Regions from separate parts of the Homo sapiens genome. Here all the other regions are linked to region 1. The links are contacts of gene promoters, found by promoter capture Hi-C in blood cells and fetal thymus (Javierre and others, 2016). All regions are on one chromosome and are shown on one strand. The core of a region is centred on a gene start or on the middle of the fragment in contact, and the rest is flanking DNA. Distances in the headings are between cores, read along the strand shown. Region 1 holds the start of GRIA4 (glutamate ionotropic receptor AMPA type subunit 4). Region 2 overlaps LOC102723879 (a long non-coding RNA gene). Region 3 has its middle 160 kb from the start of LINC02552. Region 4 has its middle 140 kb from the start of LINC02552. Region 5 has its middle 120 kb from the start of LINC02552. Region 6 has its middle 77 kb from the start of LINC02552. Region 7 has its middle 61 kb from the start of LINC02552.

What was found. Contacts are between HindIII fragments. The CHiCAGO score rates a contact against its expected background, and 5 or more counts as called.
Region 2: a contact is called between a fragment that was not itself captured here and the fragment with the promoter of GRIA4 in region 1, in 1 of 17 cell types (naive CD8 T cells). The highest score is 7.5, in naive CD8 T cells.
Region 3: a fragment that was not itself captured here is called in contact with the fragment with the promoter of GRIA4 in region 1 in 2 of 17 cell types (non-activated CD4 T cells and total B cells); the score reaches 5.5 in non-activated CD4 T cells.
Region 4: a fragment that was not itself captured here is called in contact with the fragment with the promoter of GRIA4 in region 1 in 1 of 17 cell types (naive CD8 T cells); the score reaches 8.9 in naive CD8 T cells.
Region 5: a fragment that was not itself captured here is called in contact with the fragment with the promoter of GRIA4 in region 1 in 2 of 17 cell types (activated CD4 T cells and naive B cells); the score reaches 6.3 in activated CD4 T cells.
Region 6: a fragment that was not itself captured here is called in contact with the fragment with the promoter of GRIA4 in region 1 in 1 of 17 cell types (naive CD8 T cells); the score reaches 7.7 in naive CD8 T cells.
Region 7: a contact is called between a fragment that was not itself captured here and the fragment with the promoter of GRIA4 in region 1, in 1 of 17 cell types (naive CD8 T cells). The highest score is 5.0, in naive CD8 T cells.

What each region holds. Positions count from the first base shown.
Region 1 is chr11:105,608,543-105,612,054 of GRCh38, forward strand. It overlaps GRIA4 (glutamate ionotropic receptor AMPA type subunit 4), which reads left to right and starts at 1,531. Exons shown (of 17, transcript NM_000829.4): 1 at 1,531-1,886; 2 at 2,366-2,543. The coding sequence starts at 2,456. RefSeq lists a silencer at 2,507-2,707. The HindIII fragment of the contact is 4,294 bases long and covers 1-3,066 here.
Region 2 is chr11:104,349,953-104,353,464 of GRCh38, forward strand. All of the region lies in intron 3 of LOC102723879 (a long non-coding RNA gene), which reads left to right. Among named protein-coding and RNA genes, the nearest start is that of PDGFD, 190 kb to the left of the region's middle. The HindIII fragment of the contact is 6,828 bases long and covers 1-3,512 here.
Region 3 is chr11:104,444,938-104,448,449 of GRCh38, forward strand. No RefSeq gene overlaps it. Among named protein-coding and RNA genes, the nearest start is that of LINC02552, 160 kb to the right of the region's middle. The HindIII fragment of the contact is 2,560 bases long and covers 683-3,242 here.
Region 4 is chr11:104,470,964-104,474,475 of GRCh38, forward strand. No RefSeq gene overlaps it. Among named protein-coding and RNA genes, the nearest start is that of LINC02552, 140 kb to the right of the region's middle. The HindIII fragment of the contact is 791 bases long and covers 1,456-2,246 here.
Region 5 is chr11:104,487,105-104,490,616 of GRCh38, forward strand. No RefSeq gene overlaps it. Among named protein-coding and RNA genes, the nearest start is that of LINC02552, 120 kb to the right of the region's middle. The HindIII fragment of the contact is 684 bases long and covers 1,396-2,079 here.
Region 6 is chr11:104,530,065-104,533,576 of GRCh38, forward strand. No RefSeq gene overlaps it. Among named protein-coding and RNA genes, the nearest start is that of LINC02552, 77 kb to the right of the region's middle. The HindIII fragment of the contact is 1,950 bases long and covers 773-2,722 here.
Region 7 is chr11:104,546,511-104,550,022 of GRCh38, forward strand. No RefSeq gene overlaps it. Among named protein-coding and RNA genes, the nearest start is that of LINC02552, 61 kb to the right of the region's middle. The HindIII fragment of the contact is 4,818 bases long and covers 1-3,512 here.

The DNA of each region.
Region 1 (3,512 bases), core at 281-2,780:
GGATTTTGAAATTTTAATTTAACTTGAATTTTATGTGTCATACTCTATTATCCTTTTTCAAGAGAAAACAGAATGCTATTATTCACAGCCTTGTTTTTTAACACAGAAAAATAAAAAAAGGAAAAATGCTTCAAATTTCACTTGACTTGCAAGACTAAAACTTCACAAACTAAAATGACAAATGTATGATTTGTAAAATACAGTTACAATTAGGTTTTTTTTTTCATAACAATCTGTGGTGAAATGTAACGGGAAAGCAGACACTTATTTTAAAGATGCAATTTTAAAAATAAAATTCAAAACTTAGGAAATAGAAAAGCACTCAAGTTTTAGCAGGGATTTTAAAATGTCATCTACAAACTACAAATACAGGTAATCAGTGACACCAAATAAAGTATTTTGAAAGAGTTAAGGTAATGTATATTTCAAAAAGCCGTTACCAGGCTTTCTGTAAGTCCCTTGCAAGAATTCCACTTTAAGCATTGTAGTCTCAAATATTATATCAGGCAAACCTAGGCATTTGCTATATTCTTTTTAAAAATTTAATGGCAGACATCACCCTAGGTTCCCTAACGTTTAAGGAGAACCTCTCCTTCTAATGATTCTCTCACACAGCTTATTGGAACAGGAGATTGTATTTACTAACTAGATCAGGAAATCTCAAACCATACAGAGGAAATCAGAAACCGGTCACTCACGGCTACCACAGTGACTGCTTCTGAGTGTGGTTCAAGCTCAGTCCAGGACAGGCAGATGAAAGGACAATCTTAAAGGTGACTCTGGAGAGCAAGTGAGACTGTAACCCCAAAACTTTCTAGGATAATTCATTTTCACTTCTACCCAGTCAAAACAACTATTGACATCATCACTGAAGTGCTTAAGTCTACCTGGAGGTGGCGTGGAGCAGAGTGAGCATTCCAGAGTCCCAGACAAGAGGAGATGTGCACGAAACACTATCTTCCTGTCAGACACCTGTGCCCACTGCCCCAAGCACTGCCCCTCTGGTCCTTCATCAGCCTTTGCGCTGTGTCCCTCCTGCTCCTGCAATGGGCCACAGCACAGAAGGAAAGAGTCCTCCGGAATGGGTGACTGTATAGAAAGCAATCGAATCTTTAATCACTTTTCCTACTTTACACTTCACGCAGTTCTTATTCCTATCCCTGCTTCATGCCTTTCCAAGAGAATGTTAGAGGCCTCTTTCAATTTTCATTTCTCAGTCTTTTCCCCATCCCGTTCAGTACCCTAAACTTCGTCAGTTATTTAAAATAACCTTTTACCCCCTCCTCCCCTTCCCAGGATGTTTCAACTTCTCTGGCTCTCTTCCCCATCCTTACCTCCTCCAATTCTTTCATCCTGGTCCTGGCCTCTTAAACCCGCCAGGGGCTGCCCTTTGCCTGTCTTTTCTCCTCCCATCCCTCTCTGAACCCTTTCACCTCATCCATTCCCTTGTCAGGCTCTCCAGATTCCCGGGCTGTTTGCTGGTGAGAAATCTTTGCTGCAGCGAGGACCGGAGTCCCCCGCGCGCAGCCCAGTGGCAGAAGAGGGCTAGGCTGAGAGGGAAGCCAGGACTGTAGGAGAGGGAGGCAGCCCGTCCTCCTCACGAACCTGCAAGGATGCGGCAGGGGCCTGGGGGCATGGGGAGGTACTAACCCCCCGGAGCCCCCGATTGGGGCTTGCAGACCTGGCCCGTGGGCGGATTTTCTGCCTAGCGCAGCCGAGAAGCAGAGGTGCCAGGAAAACCAAGAGAGGGGCGCTGGGGGTGCCCATCCCCAGAGTCGGTCCCTCTGCGAACCGAGGAAGAAAAGAGGAGGGAGTCAGCGAGTGGTCAGAAGGGAAAACCTGACACCAGACTGGCTCCGGAGCGTCCGGGAGACTGGGGCGCTCCGGTGAGCACCCAGGGGGTGAAGCCAGCCGAGCGGTGGGCGAGGGGCGTGCGGAGGGAGTGCGCGCTCGAGGAGGGGACGCCAGGAGGGCAGCGATGCTCCGGGCTGGTGCAGGCTTGCTGGGGGATGTCGGCTGATGCGAGCTGGAGAGCGCGTGTGGCGGCCGCGGCGCCAGTGTTTGTGTGTATGTGAGAAAGCAAGGGGCGAGCGCGAGTGCGAGTGAGGCAAAGATAGAGCGCATGTCTCATCCCTGCGAGCAGCCACTAGACGCTCCACCACCATCTTTTGCATGTGCAACATTTGCAGCCGGACAGAAAACCTCTCCCAGGGCTATGGAGACTGCGGGAAAAATCTGGCGGCTCGCGATGGATTGCTAAGGAGAACTAGTCATAATCTTAAACCACCGAAACCTCTTTCCTTTTTTTTCTTTCTTTTCTTTCTTTTCTTTTTTTTTTTTTTTTTTTGGTTGATTTTAATTTTAGCGCCATCGTCTTCAATGCTTCTCTGAACAGCCTTTAGGAAGAGTGCGAGAGAAAGAGAGAGAGCGCGCGCCAGGGAGAGGAGAAAAGAAGATGAGGATTATTTCCAGACAGATTGTCTTGTTATTTTCTGGATTTTGGGGACTCGCCATGGGAGCCTTTCCGAGCAGCGTGCAAATAGGTAAGGTGTGCTCCGATGGGGTGTGCATGTGGCTGGTTGTAGCAGATATCCGAAAGTGAGTTAAATGAGTTGCTGATAAGCAATTCAGGGAAACCTTCAGCAGTTCCCTTCCCCTCTGTTTCCCTCCTCTTCCTTTCTCTCCTTTGCAAAAAGACTTCCTCTTTAGTGCAGGTTCCGTTGGAATACACCCAGGGCAGCCCACCCATGCGTTCTCAGCCCATAGCCCTATTTCCACCTTTACCTATAGTCGCTTAAGTAGGATTGAAATAAGTTGGGGGAAAGTCTTCGGGGAATTTGGTTGTATTTTATATGATATTTATTTCCATCCCTTTCTCTAAAGCATAAAGTGATGTCGAGTTTGTTTAAAAAAGAAAAAAAAAATCCACTTCTTCCCATTCTGGACGCCGCAGCTTTCTTGCTATTACAGAAAGACACTGTTTGAGGAAAAAGACATTTCCACCCGCACGCCCTGCCGTTTCTTGCTACCAGTTAGCAGATTCCAAAGTTAGATCCCTTTCCTGGAAGCTTCTCCCCTTTTATTTTGTTTTCTTCTTGAAGCTTTTGCCCTTATTTCTCTACCTCGACTCTGTTTCCAGGGACACCCTCCATCCTTGGCTTTTCTTGCTATTCTCCTCTACTGTCTTTTAATGGGACGCAGCTATTGAATTTCTTCCAGCTAAGCCCAGCCTCAACACTGCATCATTTCTCGTGGACTGTGCATAAAACGGAGTTAATTAGGCTGAGTCCACGAGCTGGAGGAAAATAAAGTTCATTTCTTCTTTCTGATTTCCCTCTTCCCTGTGTGGCACTATATCCCTTCATTTCCGTATTTTAATGTAAATCTCTTTTCCGCTCATCTGCATGCATCTTAGAGAGAGCTGCCCTGAGGTGGCTGATGTAGCAGTGTGCTGGGAATCAGGGGGAGGGCAAGGGAGAGAAAGGAACATTCACTAAATGGTCTCAGAGGTC
Region 2 (3,512 bases), core at 684-3,183, 1.3 Mb before region 1:
TTTGGCCATGCCAATCCAGAACAAAGGGAAACCTACCCTAACTGAGGACCAGAGGTATGTGGGGTGTGGGAAAGCAAACAGTCAATATATGAGAGACCCTAAGGAAGGAGAACCATCAGGTGACAGATGGGGTTGAATTAATCCACTAAGATGAATGAAATTGTAGAGAAGAGACTGAGAATATAAGGGATCTTGCTGATGATTGACTAGAAGACCCAAGGAAAGGGACCGCAGATGTTCATAAGTACTTTACAGAGTTAGAAAAGGCATGTACAGAGTCACGTGGGTTTGACAATGTGGAAGTTATAGATGACTTGGATTTGTACAGTTTTACTTAGTTGTGAGAATAGAAACTTAGTTGGAGGAAAATGAAAAACACTGGGAAATAAGAAACAGAGATAAAATTACTGTGGTGAGTACTTTGCTATGGAAAGGCACAGAGAAATGAATCGTTATCTCAGAACAGACATGAAGTATTATTTTTTTTCACCTGGCAGGGTATATCTGCAGCCTGATAAAAATTATCTTGACAAAGATCATTATCTTGAGAAAGATAACACATTATGTGGAAGACAGAATCAATGATAAGAGACAGTTTTTTGAGTGTATGAGGAAAACTGGACTCTTAAAGCTAAAGTATATGAATTAGCCTGTGATTGAACTGGTGGCACTCTATTTTAATGGTTTATATACAGTTTTTATTTAATTCCAACAAAAACCTAGTGATGTGGGCACATTTATGATCCACATCTTACAGATGAGGAAACTGATCTATGGAAGGATTAAGCAATTATTAAGCAGTTTACTTATAAAACCACTGAAACTTATACTTTAGAAGAGGACAATGAACTGAAGAAAAAACAAAAATTCCTAAACTGAGGTAGAGACTGTGGAGTAAATGCATCAGGGATACTGTTAACTTCTTTCTGGAAAGAGACAGAAGTTGTGGATTGTTAGAATTTTTTTCTTTCAACCAATTCAAACTTAAATATGCTTTACTTTGCTATTATAGCTAAAAATATTCTTATAATTCTACAGTTTGTTAATTACTTACAAAATCAAATTTGTCTGCAAGGGTTGAAATTTGAGATCACAGGAGATTTCAAAAAAATGTAAAATAGACTCAAATGATTTTAATAAGAAGAGGTAGAAATGACTTGGTCTACATCAGCATCTTTATAATAAATGTGTATTACGATATTACATTGAAGGAATCAAGCATTACACTTTTTTATGTTATGATATACTTTCCAAAATCTAAGTCATTTTGTTTTCTATCCATATCTCTGAAAGTCTTACGGATTCTAATCTAGTGATGTATTAATCTGTAAGGTATCTGAGAACTGGAGTGATGTCTATATTTTATATTGTTTTATTATTAGCCTTTACTATAATGCTGCATTTTAGGTAACCAATATATATTTACTGAATTACAAAATAATGCATATTCCTTTTAATAAGAAATCTGTAGTTTTGTAATGGCTTCAGCTTTAGGGTGCTTTCTGGGAATTACCTATCTTTTCATTTTGTCTCAAGGAATCATACATACTACTAAATGCATAAAATTCATCTAAGAGCAACATTAAGTGCTTATTAATGATATTTAAAAACTTGTATTGACATAATTTCCATGTAATAGGAATTCTTTCATTTCAAAACAAAGTTCAAAATTAAAGCCCTGTGACATGCATATAAAAAATGTTTCTGTGTTTGGTAGGCTTCATTTCTGTTTAGATCCTACTGGAAAAAAAATGGACACAAGAATTTATTTGCTCATTTACTCACTCATCATTCACTCACATAAAGATGTGACCTAGGAAAACAATGAATTAATTTTGAAGTAATCAAAACCAAACCATTTCTATGATTAAAGGCATATACATAAGAAAGCAAAGAATTATTCATTTGCCTATACCATTATTTCTGACCACAGAGAATGCAATGATCGTAAAATTTAAATGAAATTTTGTATGAACATATATTAGGATAAAATATGTATAATAATATAAAAAATCTCAAATAGATTCATGCACTGCATAAAAATGTTTCAGTTAATGATGGATTGTGTAGAAAACATTGGTCCCATAAGATTATATTACCATGTTTTTACTGTACCTTTTCTAGTTTAGATACGCAAATACTTACCACTGTGTTACGATTGCCTGTAGTATCCAGTACAGAACATGGTGTACAGGTTTGTAGTTTAGGAGGAATAGGCTATACCTTATAGCCTAGGTGTGTAGTAGGAGATAACATCTAGGATTGTGTAAAACACTCTATGATGTTTACACAGTGATGAAATCGCCCAACTGTGTATTTCTCAGAACGTATCCTTATTCAATGATGCATGACTGTACTTTCCATAGTATTCAAATTGTTATTTTGCTTAGGGAAGTGCAGACATTACATGAAACTCAAACTTGTACAATAGAACACTTAAATGGACCTTGAATGTACATACTTGAAATAATGTGAAAATTCTAAAGATAAGGAAAATATTCAATATTAACCTTCTTTTGGAAATATTTGAATCATCCTTCTTAAATTGCTTCTAATTAGACAAAATATTTACAGGTTAATTTTAAGGAATGTATTTTTTCATCGAGTGTTGACTATTCTGAAACACAAATAAAATGTTTTTACTGCATTTTGGAATTATAAAGGCTATGGTTACACAAAGTCAGGTGAATCAATTAATCAAATTGCCAACTTTTTTTTATAGCATTCAGTCCAAAATTACTCAGTTAAGTGTAGACAATAGAACATTGTTTAGCTGATCTTATTAGCCATAAACTAAAGCTGACGTTACAAAAAACTCCCCTGCAATAATTTTTTCATGTTTTATAGACACAACGTTTGCTTTATATGTTACAATATAAATTCAATGTGTCATGGCTGTAGAAGTTTCAGTAAAATGGATACAGAAATCTCAGTTAAAGGAATACTGGTTTTAATTAATTTTCCTACTCATCTCAGAATAATTCACGTTTGGGAAGAGCTAGATTACATAAGAGAATTTTTATTATTGGATTATTGGCTTAAGAATGCATTTTTGAGCCAGGTGCAGTAGCTCATGACTAAAATCCCAGCACTTTGGGAGGCCAAGGCAGAATGATGATTTGAGGCCAGGCATTCAAGACCAACCTGGGCAACATAGTGAGACCTTGTCGCTATAAAAAATTTAAAAGAAAATGTAGCCAGGCCTAGTGGTACACACCTGTAGTTCTGGCTACTCAGGAGGCTGGGATGGGAGGATTGCATTGCTTGATCCCAAGAGTTTGAGGTTAAAGTGGGCCATGATTGTGCCACTGCACTCTAGCCGGGCAAAAAAAAAAAACTTTGGATTTTGTATTTTTAAACTAATATGATCATCATCCCCATATGTGAAGATTGTTTAGTCCATTTGCTCTTGATGCCATTATTGATGTTACTGGATTTGCATCTGCCTTTTACTTTGCTTTCTTCATATCTCGTTTTTGTTCTTTATTTCACTTCCATTTTCTTATTCTCTA
Region 3 (3,512 bases), core at 713-3,212, 1.2 Mb before region 1:
AATAGTAAAGTCTGTGCCCAAATGTCACCTTTTCAGAGAGGGCTTCATTAACAATTCCACCTAAAGAAGATTCCCCACTCCTCACCCACTTCATCTTATCACTTTGCTTTATTTTCTGCACAATATTTCTTACTATTTGACTTCTTCCTTCCTTCCTTCCTTGCTTGTTTCTTATATAGGCCTGTAAATATTCAGGAACAATATTAAAAAATTACAAAAATTTACTAAAGACTACACATGCATATTAATCAGTGAGAATATTCTATATTATTAATGCCAATTTTTCTAAATTAATCTATGTAATGCAATCTCAGTCAGACTAAATATGCAGATGATGTGGAAGAGAAAAAGTGAAAGAATAGAGAAGAAAAGGAAAAAAAAGAACCAATGGAAAAAGAATGATTCATTTGAATGAGAGAAATTAGATTTCTAGTTCATAACATTTTAAAATCCACATTGATTAAAGAACTAAGTGCAATAAAATAATTATGAAAATACTGTCAAGAATATTTTAGCGTGGGGGGCCTTTTGCAGTAGAAAACAAAACAGACAGCCATGCAGGAAGAGAAGATAACTTTAACAAAATAATGATAATTTTAAACTCTTCTTTATGAAGAAAGATACCATGAGCCAAATAAAAAGACAGCCTAGCACAATAGAAAAGATGGAAGATAAATATTAAAGCTTAATCATATATAAATAATTTTCTTAAATCGATATGGTAAACACAAAAAACCCAACAGAAGAAAAATGGTCAATGGCTGTTAACAATTCACAGAAAATCAAAGTTTCTCAACCTCATTTTCAATGATGGTTATATAAACTATAACAGCACTGAGATTTTATTTTCCCGTTCGATTTGTAAAATTTTTAAAAATGCCTCAATACTTTCAGTTGGGATAAAAATAATAAAAAACAGAAAATTTCAAATACTGTTTGAATATAAGTTTTATAAAGTAATCAAGAAATTTCTATCAAAATTTAAAATGTGAATACCCTTTATCTCTCACTTCTTCCTTCCTCAATTTTCTTCTAGATATTCTCCCAAAAAGGGCATTTAATTGCAGCAAGTTTTCTAGTAGGAAAATAGAGAAAGATTAAATAGTTATTGATTTGTGTAATTTGATAATAGATTCTGTAGCCATAAAAACAATTGGAAACAAATATACTTCTCTACCTATGACAAATATACTTCTTTACCTATGACAAATTTTGTAAATCATTAATCTTATCTATTATATGAACTGCAAAAATTATCTTCATTCATGTATATATGCGTAAATATGTATGTAAATGTATAAGAACACTAAAAACATGTAGAATGTCTTAAATCTTTGGATTTTATTGTGTATATTTCTTTTTTATGGGGGTCTTATTTTAACTTGTGCATACAAAAATTTTAATTTTGAATTGCTTTTACAAAATGTGTTTAAAAACATATCAAAAGTTAATACTAATAATTTTTGTGAATGAGGGAAAAAACTAGTCTCTTTAGTAACTGTAGCTACATAATCTCTATGGTAACTACACTTAACCAAAAACCATACCCACTACTTAATGAACACATACATGTGTCAATTACTATATTTATTAAATTTTTGATTTTATAGATGAGAATACTGAGCTAAGAAAACTGTCCAGATTTACAGAGCTAAGAGTTCTCAAAGATGTTCACTATTTTTTTTAAGTTTTTTTTTTTTCCTTCAACTTTTGTCTTAAGTTCAGGGGTACATGTGCAGGATGTTCAGGTTTGTGAAATAGGTAAATGTGTGCCATGGTGGTTTGCTGCACAGATCATCCCATCACCTAGGTATTAAGCCTAGCATCCATTGTCTGTTCTTCCTGATGCTCTCCCTCCCCACACAACCCCAACAGCTCCAGTGTGTGTTGTTCCCCTCCCTGTGTCCATGTGTTTTCATCATTCAGCTCCCACTTGTAAGTGAGAACATGTGGTGTTTGTTTTTCTGTTCCTGCATTAGTTTGCTGAGGATAATGTCTCCCAGTTCCATCCATGTCCCTGCAAAGGACAGGATCTTGTTCTTTTTTATGGCTGCATAGTATTCCATGGTGTATATGTACTACATTTTCTTCATCTGTTCTATCATTGATGGGCATTTAGGTTGATTCCATGTCTTTGCTATTGTGAATAGTGCTTCAATGAACATACACATGCATGTATCTTTATAATAGAATGATTTATATTACTATGGGTATATAACTGGTAAACATTACAAGCTCATGGATAAGAAGAATCAATATCATAAGAATGGTCATATTGCCCAAAGTAATTTATAGATTCAGTGATACTCCCATTAAACTACCATTGGCATTCTTCACAGACTTAGAAAAAAAAACTATTTTAAAATTCATATGGAACCTAAAAGGAGCGCAAATAGCCAAGAAAATCCTAAGCAAAAACAAAGCTGGAGGCATCACACTACCTGTCTTCAGATTATACTGCAAGGCTACCTAACCAAAACAGCATGGTCTTGGTACAATAACTGACACATAGACCAATGGAACAGTAGAGAATGTAGAAATAAAACGGCACACCTACAACCATCTGATCTTCAACAAACCTGACAAAAACAAGCAACGAGGAAAGGACTTTCTATTTAATAAATGATTCTGGGAGTGCTGGCTAGCCATATGCAGAAAATCAAAACTGGACCCCTTTTTTACACTGTATACAAAAATTAACTCAAGATGGATTAAAAACTTAACTGTAAAACCCAAAACTATAAAAATCCTAGAAGAAAATCTAGGCAGTACCATTCAGGAAGTAGGCACAGGCAAAGATTTCATGATGAAAATGGCAAAAGCAATTGCAGCAAAAGTAAAAATTGACAAATGGGATCTAATTAAAGAGCTCTGTACAATAAAAGAAACTGTAATCAGAGTGAACAGACGACCTACAGAATGGGAGAAAAGTTTTGCAATCTATCCATTTGACAAAGACCTAGTATCAAGACTATACAAATAACTTAAACAAATTTACCAGAAAACAAACAAACAAACAAACAAACCCCATTCAAAAGGGGGTAAAGAACATGAACAAACTCTTCTCAAAAGAAGACATACATGAGGCCTACAATCATATGAAAAAAAAAGCTCAACATCACTGATCATTAGAGAAATGCAAATCACAACCACAATGAGATACCATCTCACACCATTCAAAATGGCTATTAGTAAAAAGTCAAAAAGCAACAGATGCTGACAAGGTGGCAGAGAAAAAGGAAAGCTTTTATTATACATTGTTGGTGGTAGTGTAAATTAGTTCAACCATTGTGGAAGATAGTGTGGTGATACCTCAAAGACCTAGAGGCACAAGTATCATTTCATAATCACTATTAATAGTTTAATTTTTTAAAGGTGAATATTTAGAATATATTTTATTTAGATATATTTTAATGTAATGTATTATAAATACAAAATATGAACTCACAATAGACAAATTAAAAATGTTGGGAGAGATTAAATAAATACCTGTGCTCTTCACAAAGATCTTA
Region 4 (3,512 bases), core at 601-3,100, 1.1 Mb before region 1:
CAAAGTCTATGATACAAATTAGAGAAAAATGAATATGTCAAAATGAAGTACACTATTTCCAAATAATAGACATCTTCATTTAGTATAATATTTTTACATCTGTATATTTCCATTAGTACCAGGACTTACCAACATAAAGAAGTGGGAAATCATCAAGCTGTGAAGATGCAAAGTGACTGTACCATTTTGTATTCCAACCAGCAATGAATGAACTTGTTCATTGCTTCATATCCTTTCCAGCATTTGCCATTGTCAGTGTTCACATATTGGCTATAATGTAGTTTGGCCATAGTAGGTGTGTGGTGTTCTCTCACTGTTGTCTGAATATGGATTTCCCTGATGACATACGATACGGAGCATCTTTTCTTGTGCTTATTTGCCATCTATATATCTTCTTTGCTGAGGGGTCTATGCAAGTATTTGACCTATTTTTTTAAACATACATAGTTTTAACATGCAAAACAGCAATCACACGCCAAGGAGTTGAAAACATGTCCGTGCAAAAACCTTCACACAAATATTTATAGTAGCTTTATTCATAATTACCAAAACATGAAAGTAACCAACTTGTCCTTCAATAGGTGAATGGATAAACTGTGATACATCTAGATAAGAGAAAATTACTCAGTGCTAAAAAGAAATGAGCCATCAGGCCATGAAAAGACATGGAAGAACCTTGAAGGCATATTACTAAGTTAAAGATGCCAGTGTGAAAGGCTACACAATGTATGATTCCAACCACGTGTATATGAAATTCTGGAATAGGCAAAACTGTGGCAGCAATAAAGAGATCAGTGGTTGCCAGGGCTTGAGGGAAGGAGGGAGGGATGAATAGGCAGAACAAGGAGGATTTTTAAGGGAGGGAAAATGTGGCATATCCACTATAATGGTGGACACATGTCATTATTCATTCGTCCAAACTGATAGATTATAAGACACCAAGAGTGAACCTTAATGAAAACTATAGGTTTTCAGTGGTAATGATGTGTCTGTGTAGGTTCATCAGTTGTAACAAATGTACCACCTGTGGTGGGGAGTGTTGGTAACTGGGGAGACTGTACATGTTTTTGTGGGGAGAGGATAGATATAGGAATTCTTTTTACCTTTCTCTTGAACTTGCCATGAACCTAAAGCTGCTCTAAAAAATGTTTTCTAAAAAGGTATTCTTGACAAATTTTCCTACCAGAGAAAAAAAGACAAATGAAAATAAAACCCACAGATCCTATTCCCAGCTTTAAAACATGTGATGTAAAAATTATTACCTAACCTAACAACTCAGCTATAGATTTTCACCTCTCACAGTAAATGCATCCAAAGGAAATAAACTGTGAAAACCTCAAAATCTTCAAGGTTGTTTTTGTTCTATGAAAAATAACTTACCTAGTACTAGTTATTTTATAGGGCTGCTTTTGAAATTCATTAGAATTCAAAAAAAATCTGTAAGAGTTTAGTAAAAGCTTTGGTTATTTGGCATAATGACTGTCAGGCTTTAGAAATAGATGTAAAAAAGTTTTTATATGCAGCAGTTATGAAGTCTGTGTTCTTGTTTCTCTTGTTGAAAGAAGCATTTATATGCTAATGAATTCTACTGCAATAGAATTACATATTTTACAAGTATCTAGTTGTATTACTAAAGTGTAAGTGTTTCCTGTACTAACCAATATCCTCTACTCTGCAAGATTCCTAAGCATTGTTTTCAGAAGAATAAATTAGAGGCCTTGTCATGGTTTAAAATAAAAACCTGGTTAGGTTTTATGAGTAATTAACAACAATATATTAGACTGAGTACTATTTCCAGGGTGGTATTTGTTTTATATATAATATATATGTACACACAAGTATAGGTATAATACCTACGTAGTTTATATTCTTCACAGCAAATCTAAACTGTAGATACTATTATTATTCATTTGTTAATGATGAGGAAATGGACACAGAGAGGTTAAGTAACTTGGTAATACCTCACAGTTATAAGTGGTGCAGGGAGGGTTGCTTGATAAAATACAGGTCCCCAGGTAAATTTTAACTTCAGATAAACAAATTTTTATGTGTGTTCTAAATATTTCATTGGGTATAATTAAACTTAAAAATATTCACTATCCGAAATTCAAATTTACCTACATATCCTATATTTTATTTGCTAAATCTAAAACTGTAGGTGGAACAGAGATTTCTATCCGGACTGCCTGGCCCCAGAGCTTGTGCTCCTTCCCACCACCTTACACCATTACTTGTATCAGAAAAGAAGCTTAATATACATAAAAGAGATGTATTGGGGCAAGTATAAATTGAAAGTGAAAAATGCAGCATAAAAGTTTTTTTTAATTTGCACATCCGTCATTATCATTATCATGGTTGTAATCTCTACAATAAGAGCTACCTGTTTATCATGCACTATGCTTCTTGCTTTATATAAATTAATTCATTTAAATATTACAATTATTATTTCCATTGAACAATGAGGTTTAGAGAAGTTGAGATCCTCTTCCAAGATCACACAGCCATAAAGTGGTTTGACCCCAAGGCAGGTGCTTTCATAAACCTTAAATTGCAGTTGGTACTATGGCATCCAATAATCCTGAAACCTTCGCATAAATCAGAATCACCCAAAGGATGGCTTATTAAAGCACAGATTGCTGGGCCCCACCCCAGAGTTTCTGACTCAGTTGTTCTAGAGTGGAGCTGGGAATTTGTATCTCTAAGTTCCTAGGTGATTCTCAAACTGTTGGTCTGAGACTACGTTTTGAGAACCATCTGTTGCCAGCAATTCTGTCTCTGGGCTTTTTGTATTGAATACTCAAATTTCAGTGAAAACAACATTAGAAAATAGAAGATATTGTAGGAAGATAAATAAATAGCACCTCTCAGAAAGCAAAGATGGATAAGCAAATTGAACAGGTAAGAAGGTACGTGGTATCCACATGGCATTTCATGAGAATATTTTAATGGAACTCAGAATAATTGTGAAAACCAGATTTTATGGGTGCAAAGGGATATAATTCAGGGATCAGGGTGGCATGGGTTCATCAAAATTTTATGTGTTACAAATGCAAGGTAGGGCTGAGTTGGGTGGATCATGCCTGCAATAACAGCACTTTGGGAGGCCTAGGAGGGCGGGTTGCTTGAGCTCACGAATTTGAGACCAGCCTGGGTAACATGGTGAAACACCTTCTCTACAAAAAAATAAAAATTAGCTGGGAGTGATGGTGTGTGCCTGTGGTTCCAGCTACTTGGGAGGCTGAGGTGGGAGGATCGCTTGAGCCTGGGAGGTAGAGGTTTCAGTGAGCAGAGATCATACCACTGCACTCCAGCCTGGGTGATAGAGCCAGACTATATATATATATATATATATATATATATATATATATATATATATATGACTATATATTTATGTATGACTATATATATGACTATATATATATGACTATATACATATGACTATATATGACTCTATATATGACTCTATATATATGACTATATATGTCTATATATATGACTCTCTCTCTCTCTCT
Region 5 (3,512 bases), core at 488-2,987, 1.1 Mb before region 1:
GAATCTTTGTCCCAGTTCCTTAACCAGTTTTAATATGTAGGAAACTGTCGGCTAACTCCCAGAACGTTGTTAACATGAATATTCTCACTGAGAGAAGCAATGCTGATAAGAAATGGGGCCCCCAGAACCAAATGTTTTTGATCCAGGAACTGCACTCTTTTCAAGGATGCTTTTCATTTTTCAGAGATGAATGTAAATAAGCCCATACAGCCTCTAGGGAACAAAAATAGAACCCCACCATTATCTGCTAATACACATTGGAGTAAATTGTATCCACCCTTTTACTCAGTATCTTAGCTGAATCAGGTTCAAAGCTACTCATTTCTTTGGGGATAAAGACGACAATTAGAATCTTTTCTTAGCTGGTTCAATTTAAAATTTAGACTTTGCTGATAATTTTTCTTTGGCTGATAATGAAAGTTGTTGGCACATTTCCCAGCCTAGATACTTATCTATAAATAAAGTTGTATGCTAGTGTGGCCAGAAAGAACATTAGTGCCTGCATCAGATAGTTTGAGATGGCTACTGGCAGAGAGCTATGCTGCTGTAAGAAATGAAGGCATTAGAAGCATGACAGTGCAGACTTGGGCTGCTTGTATGCCCACATTAAAATGTACATAATAAGCCAGGGGCAGTGGCTCATGTCTGTAATCCCAGCACTTTGGGAGGCTGAGGTAGGCGGATCACCTGAGGTCAGGAGTTCGAGACTAGCCTGGCCAACATGGCAAAACCCCATCTCCATTAAAAATAAAAAATTAAAATTAAAAAATAGCCAGGGATGGTGGCATGCATCTGTAATCCCAGCTACTCGGGAGGCTGAGGCAGGAGAATCACTTGAACACAGGAGACAGAGGTTGCAGTGAGCCAAGATTGCACCATTGAACTCCAGCCTGGGCAACAAGAGCGAAACTCCATCTCAAAAAAAATGGAAAATGTATATAATAGTCTTTCCTATACAAAGTATAGGAAAAGTATAACCTCCTCTTTCAAAGATATTTATCCCTCTAATTATTTAATAGTGAGCTGTTGAATTAAACCTTTTGATAACTCTTTGATCAATAGATGGATATCAAGGATTTAACATGAATTAACTCCCATTTGCTGGATATGCACATATTGCTGAGAATAGAACAGGGCTGTAAGGGAGCTACAGTTATTGAGTTCATAGCTTTAAGATTTTATTTCTTTTTTTTTTTCTGTGCAGGGTCAGGTGGAAGCTGGCCAGTAGGTACCACAAAAATAATGAAAATAAAGCATCATGAGTGCTGTGAGGGACAAAGTACAGGATCTCCTTCTGGGTTGCTTTTCTCTTCTGTTACTATTTTCTTCCCTGCGTTGCTTGACTGAATTCCACCCAGTCTTCAGGTCTCAGGATAAATGTCACTTTCCAAGAAAAGCTTTTGCCTACATTGGATAGCCCTATCCTAGACTTCATGCAGCCTGTACTTTTATTTCATAGCAGTTGACATGTTGGTATTTATATCATTTATATGGGGTTTTTCGATATCTCTTTTTTTCCCACTAGAGTATAAATTCCACAAGAGCAGGAACCTTGCCTCTCTTGTCATCACATCTGAGTGCTTCATACTGTGTCTGGCAAATAGCAATGGTATTTAGAGGGTGAGCATGTCACATACTCTGTGTTCGACACAGTTTTATGTACAGACATATTTGTTAATCCTCAAAAGTTGTTTGAGGAAAGTACCATAATATTTCCCTTTTTAAAGATTGAGAAACTGAGATAAAGAGATGTAGAGCAACTTCTATAAACTTTCACTGCCAACAGGGGCCAAGTCTAGATTAAACCCAGGCGCTCTTGCTTCAGACTTTGTGTTCTTAACCACTTTTTTTTTTTTTACTGCATTTATAGATAACCCTTTGTCAAATAAGTCAAAGAATAAATTAATGAGCTAGACAAACTAATACCAAAGTGCCTAACCTACTTTAGCAGTCTTACATGTCTTTTGAAGATATAAAGATTAAATGAAAACTGAAAGATGAGTAGGAGGACTGAAATTTAGCCCTAGCATTTGGGCAAAAAAGTGTGGATATGCAGAAAAGTATATTCCAGGTAAGGTAAGCTTCATAGATGAAAGTTTGGAGATGTACGAGTATAGATACTTCTAGAAATGAGTAGAATTTCATTTTACCTGGCAGGCATGCTGAGTGTGAGAGGCATCTTGGTAAGGCTGTAGATCTAGGCAGGGCCTAAATGATGGGAGGCTTTATAAATACTTTCTAAAGAAGTTTTATAGGATTTGACGGAAAGGCTTAAAAGACAGGAGTGACCCAATCAGATAGGCGTTTTGAGAATGCTGCTGCCTATATTGTAGAAAAGCATTTTAAGCAAATAAGTCCAGAAACAGAGAGAAAAAGCTGTTTGGTAGTACTTGAAATAAAAGATTTGGTGACCTGTACTACAGTAGTAGCAGTAGGAGTGGAGATAAATATTTGGATGTAATAATATTTAGGATTAAGAGACAAAAGGACTTCATGATTGAATACAGGAGTGTGAGGAAGAAGTTAGTCATCGCAAGTTATTGAAATATGAAGTTGGAGTCAGGAATAGGAAAGAAAGGATCAGACTTTGAGGTGCCAGTGTGGTTTTCCAGTGACCATGATTATTAACAGTTGAGAATGTTTCTCTTGAGCTTAAGAGATATACGTCTAGGCTAGAAATACAAATTTGGGATAGTTTAAGTAGCAACTGAAGCCATGAAAGTCCAAGGCAAAAGAAAATAATTACCAGGACAGATGTCTCAGGACTTGTCAATGTGAACTGTAATGAGTTTGTTGTTTCTTAGCCTCAGGTTTCTATGCTGTAAAATGTCAGTGTGAAGAATGTACTTCACAGGGTTAATATCAGGCTATTATGAAACAACTGTGAAAACCTCTGGAAGTTGTGTACATTCACTAAAGCATAATTCCATCTCTTTGTTTCTACGTAGTTAAAATAACTTTCTTTTTCAAGTAATCTCAAGAGGAAACATAAAACTTGCATCAGCAAGTGAATACTAAATTTCCAAGGATTGTAATGGGAGTTTGTAGGAAAAAGAAAATATCCTCTCTCCTAATTAAATGTCTATTCTGGAGACTGATTTGAATAATAATAAAAATCCAGTCTCCTGTACAGCTAGCTCTGTGTAAATTAATCTTTCTCTATTGCAATTCCCTTGCCTTGATAAGTTGGCTCTGTCTAGGCAGTGGGAAAGGTGAACCCATTGGGCAGTTACAAATTTGGGGGCTCGTCCAGGATTGCCCTTGTGGCTGCATACCCATAGTTTGGTAGCCCCCCGTTCCAGCGATGGATCCAGAGGCTGGCCCAAGTGGCCACCTAGTTCTCTTGGACTGGGGGCTGACTCTGTTACCATCTCTACTGGCAGGACACTGCCGACCGAACATGTATGTATTTATTTGCATTAGAGAAATAATCCGGGGAAGACATCTCTTAACTGTAGCCCTATCACAGGGTATCTGTCTGTAGCCACATAGTGGGGTGTCTATCTGCAGCC
Region 6 (3,512 bases), core at 498-2,997, 1.1 Mb before region 1:
TGTCCCTGTTTGAAATCTTCTGCCAGCACTGACATCTGTGCACTTACACAATGCCTGACTTGCCATCATGCTATCACTCAGAATATAGCTTCTGACTCAGGAACACATGTCCAATAGTAAAAGTAAATGGAAAATTACAACAATCAAAAGAAAAGAAAGGTTACCATAATGGTTAATTTTATGTGTCAACTTGCCTTCATTAAGGGATTTCCGGATGGCTGTTAAAACATTATTTCTGGGTGTGTCTGGGAGGATATTTCCAGAAGAGATTATCATGTGCATCAGTAGACTGAGTAAAGAAGATTCCCCCTTAGCAATGTGGGCAGGCATCATCCAATCCCTAGAGGGCTTCAGTGGAACAAAAAGGTGGAGGAACTGCAAACTTGCTCTCTTATCTGAAGCTGGGGCATCCATCCTCTCCTGCCACTGGACATCAGAGCTCCAGGTTCTTGGGCCTTTAGACTCTGAGGCTTCTTATATCAGTGATACTCCACATTCTTATTCTCAGGTCTTTCGCCTTGGGTGCTCAGGCCTTCAGACTCAAGACTGAATTATGACACCACTGATGTTCCTGGCTCTCCAGCATGCAGAAACCATGTAGTGAAACTTACTGGCCTCTATAATCACATGAGCCAGTTCCCAAAATAAATTTATCTTTAATACCTGTGTATATCCTATTGATTCTGTTTCTCTGGAGAATCCTAACACAGTCACAAAGAATTCATGCCTCAGCGGAGTATAAGTTTGAATAAAGAATACTGACAAGCTGAGAAGCTTGTTGAAGCCCTAGGGGATATGAGATGAGTAAAGAAATGTGTTAATAAATTGTGGCCGGTTACCATTCTACAGAATTCAGTATAATAACAACTGCATAGAGTTTTATTGTTAGGAATATATATATATATGTCATTTAAATAAATTAATATACAAAAATATATAGCCTTTATGTTAGCCTTTATATTATGGACTATACAGTTGGGATTATGACAGAATTAAAGGAGAAATTAACATCACCCAGAGACAAGATGGACACCATAATGGTTGGGACTTTAAGTATCATATTGCATATCATTAGGAGGCTGAGTGGTCAAAGCAGTGGACCGCGCCATTTATTGTTTCCTCTCAGCACCAGCTCTACCCTTCTGTGTCAGCCTACTGATGCTGGGTCTAGCACTGCAAACTGCCTATCTTATCTCCTTTGCCAACTGGCTTCCTATTGTTAAATTCTGCCAGTAGGGGGTGGAAGAGGAAGGCTGGAAGGTAGGAATCTGCTGTACCAGCAATGTCCCAGCAACAATACTCTGCCCTAGCAGGAGCTAGTCAGCTTCTTGCAGCCTCCAGCTTCTTTCCACATGTTAATGCCAGGTTCATTGTGCCCACTTAAAGGTTCAGCAGCAGCTAGACTGCACCCTGTCCTCAGAGTCAGAGCTCAAATTCAAACACCCCTCCTCACATTGAATTTATGTAGTTGTATTAGTCCATTTTGCATTGCTATAAATAAGTACCTAAGACTGGTTAATTTATAAAGAGGTTTATTCGGCTTATGGTTCTGCAGTTTTACAAGAAGCATCTGCTCCTAGTGAGGCCTCAGGGAGCTCACAATCCTGGAGGAAGGTGAAGGGAGACCAGCATGTCACGTGGTGAGAGAGGGAGTGAGAGAGAGAGATGGGGGAGGGAAGCCCCAAACTCTTTTTAACAACTAGATCTCCATGAACTAACAGAGTGAGAACTCCTTACCACACTGCACCTCAGGCACCAGCTCTTTATGAGGGATCTGTCCCCATGCTCTCAGCGCCTCCCGTCAGTCCCCTTCTCCAACACTAATCACATTTCAACATGAGATTTGGAGGGGACACACATCCAAATTAACCTCTTCTATATATTTCCAAAGTCATATGGATGGTAGCTGCTTCTTGTAGTTATTATCTCGGGATTGCATTAGTTACTATGCCTGAATTACTTTAGTGTTCCCAATTGCTCATTCAGCCTCCAACGCCTGTAAAACCAGTTCCCTTTATTATAGTCTCTATGTTGAAATATCTAGTGTGGTTTCTGTCTTCCTGACTTCTCAGTGACAAACATAGTCTCTCATAGATTTAAAATTGCAATAGCTTCATATTGCTCCTAGGGTAAGGTTCAAAACTCTCTGACTTGGCGTATAATGCTCTTCACATTTTTGCTTTTCTGACTTGCCTTCTACCACCTCCACCTATTATTCAAGTGATTCCAGCCAAATTGCCATTCCCAGGATGCTTCATCCTCTAATCCTTTTCATATGACATTTTCCCCACTTACTTTGTATGATGTATACTTTTTTTCCCAAGCAGCACAATCTTTTTTTATTTATCATCCTGTTTCACTTCATATACTCTTTTGATCTTTCAGGACTTGTGTCTCATACTCTAATGACTCTTCAAGGATCACGTTTTGAACACACAAACACAAATCTCTGAACGTACAGGAAGAAAGAGGGGAAGATATCACATACATACATCACAATCTCCAAGGCTGTATTAGCTGTCTTTGCTTGTTGCTGTTTTAGCACATAACGCTGTAATGAATGGTTTGTGTACTCCAATAGCATAGTGCTAATTCCCAATAGGAGTTCTTTAAGTAGTTGGCAAATAACTTAGATAAATACAATATAAAAGATAGGTGAGGAAAATGCCAAGAACAACTACAAAAAAAGGAAGATGTTCTATTGGATTAAAAATAATTAAAAAGCTTTAAGGTTCATCAAAGTCTATTGTGAGTGAATATATTGGGCCCATCTGAATAATTGAGGATGATATCTTATGTTAAGATCAGCTGATTACCACCCTTAATTTCAACTACACTCTTAAATCCCTTTGCCAAGCAATGTAACATATTCATAGGTTCTGGGAATTAGGACGTGAAGATCTTTGGGGGACCGTTATTCTATCTAACACAATCACTATTAGAACACTTAGAAAAGACATTGTGAATTAGATGATTATAAATTACCACTCAGGTTCTATGCCATTCTCATAGTTTTCATCACAGTCTAATTGATTCAAGGGAATTTTCTTTATTCACCACCGGAATAGCCCAATGTGAATGCATGTGCTACTTTTCACTTATGTTACAGTTTTTCTCATTTCTGTGTATCAATGATTAGTGAAGATGGAGTTTAGAAGAGATTAAATGAGTATACAATATAGTCGCCAGCCAGAAGCCAGCAAGAGACCTGTGCCCGTTATGTCCCTGTGTGTTTTCTTTCCCTAACCCCAAGATTTGAAAGAAAAAAAAATGTTTAACGGAACAGGAGGTTGCAGTAAACAGATTTAACTGCACACAGTTATGACCTCTGAGATTCCTGAAATTTTCTGAGATTTCAGAAAATGAAGAGAAGACTGAGCAATATGAAATATTGATCTCATGTTTGTTTCAGCTTTTGTAAATGGCAATGTAAAGTATAGAAAAATATTTCCAATTGAGCCTATTAAGCTTAACGTAAGCTATCAACATTTTTTTTTTTTTTTTTTGAGACA
Region 7 (3,512 bases), core at 288-2,787, 1.1 Mb before region 1:
TATTATTTTTATGTGTTATGTTTGTATATAAAGAGACTATCATGAATACACCAGTGGTTAGGTAGATCATTCTCAATTTTTTTCTGTTTTCAAATTTCTTGTACTTCTTTGTGACCACATTCTCTATATGCATCACTGGTCATTTGTGACACAGAGTCAAAGGCAGGAATTTTCTAGATATTGCTAGAACAACACTGCAAAGGCATCCAGTGTCATCCGACTCTTTTAAGTTGAGTTACTGAATACCCCCTTGCTGGTTTATATTTCACCAATGTTGATAATTTAGAAGTTGAGGCCAGTAGTGCATAATAAATTTTAATCAGCCAAAAAAATACAACAGAAGATTTGGTTGCAGGGTTTTACACTAACACACACACAGTTTTGTATGTGTACATGCATATACATATGAATATATGCAGGTATATGTATATATATGCATACGTATACACACACAGTCTTCATCCAAGTATTACATGAACCCATAAATGTTAAAGTGGTACTGATTGTTTTGATTTTCTTTCACTTAAAATATTTTTGCTTGTCTGACAAGTACTATATATGAGTGGTTTTTGACAGATTATTCATCATGAGGATTAGTAGAGCATATAAATCATAAATCAGTGAAAATGCAGAAACCCTACTAGAAGAAGCACATCTGAGAATTGATTGAAACATATCAAAAGAAAACATTAATCAACATCTGATTCAAATAAAAAGATATAGTTCAAGGAAAAAGGATTGTCAAAATTTTGGTAGGCAGAAAATAGGAAAAAAAAGTACAAGGAATCCTCTTTCTCTTTCTCTCTCCTGCTCTCTCTCTCTCTCTATCTCCATATATATATGACTTTCTCTGAGAATAAAGAGGGAAAATTTGGGCTAAGGTTACAGACTGCATTCTAACCACCTCTTCTGTTTCCTGTAACTATTTTCTTCTATAAATAAAAAGTTCACCCCCCGATCCTATTTGGGAAAAGGAAAAGAGAATAGCCCAGTGTATTTACTCCAGGCTACTGGGCGGTAGACTTGAAGCAAATGTGTTGAACTGCTATCCTTTCCTTGGTAATTCAGCCCTAGTAGACCTGGTGTCACTGGTTCTTCGATTTTATTTTGTCTCTTGCTCTCTAATTTTGTCTCTTTTTGTGTTTGTGTCCACAATTTGGCAGTGATCCTTTATCAGTCATTGCTGTAGTAAAGAAACTCTCAAGACAAGCTACCTTAACAACCATTCACATACAGATTCCTAAGTTTCTACATGTGCACATTCACAAACTGAAGAATAAGACAGAGAGAGAGAGAGAGGAGAGAAGAAATAGAGTGACAGAGAGAGAGAGAAAGAGAGAGAGCAACTGAGAGAATTCACCCAAATCATGATCAATGTGTATTATTGTTATATTACTATATCTACTATGTATCTGATATGTCCCTTTCAAATTCACTTAAGATCTAAATTCCTGGATGAGAGATTATATTGTTTGCTGGTGAAACCCTAAGTAGCAAATGCTATTTCAATGGAAATTCCTATTTAATAAAACTAGTTATAAATCCCATTAGGAGGTGAGCTTATTTCAATAAATATTTGCTGTAGCACTGGCTAAGTACAATGAGATGATTTAACCATGTTCTTGAATATACAGTCATATGTAGCCTAGCAACAGAGGCACATTCTGAGAAATGCATCATTAGGTGACTTCATCATTGTGCAACCATCATAGGGTGCACTTAGACAAACCTAGACGGTACAGCCTACTATCCACCTAGGCTATACGTTATAGCCTGTTGCTCCTAGGTTACAAACAGGTACAGCATGTTTCTCTACTGACTATTGTAGGCAATTTTAATGCAATGTTAAGTATTTGTGTATCTAAACACATCTAAATATAGAAAAGGTACAGTATAAAAGATAAAAAATGGTACATGGTTTAGGGCAATTACCATGAATGGAGCTTGCAGTACTGAAGGTGGCGCTCTGAGTGAGTCTGTGAGTGAGTGGAGTAAATGTGAAGGCCTAGGACATTAGAGTACACCACTGTAGTAGACTTTATAAACATTGTACACCTAGGCTACACTCAATTTATTAAACAAATTTTTTTCTTCAATAATAAATTAAACTTAGCTTACTGTGGTATTGTAATTTTACTTTATACACTTTTTTAAATTTTTTGACTCTTGGAATAACACCTAGTTTAAAATACAAATACATTGTACTGTTGTATAAACATTTTATTTCTTTATGTAATTATTCTATAAGTGTTTCTCTATTTTTAAAATGTGTGTGTTTTTTTTAACTTTCAAACTTTTTTAAAAAAATTAAGACTCAAACACACAGATTAGCCTAGTCCTATACAAGATCAGGGTCACTCAAATCATTGTCTTTCACCTCTCCATCTTGTCCTACTGGAAGGTCTTCAGGGGTAATAGCAGGCACAAAGCTGTTAACTCCTATGATGACAATGCCTTCTTCTGGAATCGCCCCTGCCTGAAGCTATTTTATAGTTAACTTTGTAAAAATATATATATTTAAGTGGAAGGAGTACACTTTTAAATAATGATAAAAAGTATAGTAAATATTTAAACCAGTAACAGAGTTGTTTATTATCAAGTATTATGTACTATACATAATTACATGTGCTATACTTGTATACTACTGAAAGGACAGTAGCATTGTTTATGCCAGCATAACCACAAGCACTTGAATAATGTATCATGGTAGGGTAGCATGACAGCCACAAAATCTCTAGGTGATAAAAATTTTTCAGCTCTATTATAATCTTAAAGGACCACTGTCTTTATGTGGTTGGTCGTTGACTAAAATGTTACAGGATGCATTACTGTATGATGTTTACTTCTCTGCTTGGAAAACCCAGATTATTTTCAACATACAACATCAGTTTAAAACTGGAATAAATATATCTTTCAGTTAGTATGTTGGTGTAATATAATGTTCTTGTTGTTGCAGATGAGATTTTCTCTTGATTTTAAAGTTATTTTTCAAATGACTGTATATTGGTGAGGTTAAGAACATGGGCTTTGGGGTCAGAGTGATCTGAGGTTATAATTTGCCGTGTAATCTTTAGCAAAATTTTCCTTCTTTCTCTTTTTCTCTTTCTTTCTTTCTCTCTTTCTTTCTTTCTTTCATTCTTTCTTTCCTTCCTTCCTTCCTTCTTTCCTTCTTTCTTTCTGCTCCTCTCCTCTCCTTTCTCTTTCTTTCTCTTTCTTTCCTTTCTTTCTTTCTTTCTTTCTTTCTTTCTTTCTTTCTTTCTTTCTTTCTTTCTTTCTTTCTTTCTTTCTTTCTTTCTTTCTTTCTTTCTTTCTTCTCCCTCTCCCTCTCTCTCTCTCTCTCCCCCCCTCCCTCCTTCCTTCCTTCCTTCTTTCTTTCATCTTATTTGCCATGTAATCTTTAGCAAATTTCTCTTTCTTTCTTTCCTTCTTTTATTCTTTTTCTTTTCTGTCTGTCTTCTGACGGAATCTCACTCTGTCGCCCAGGTTGGAGTGCAGTGGTATGATCTCGGCTC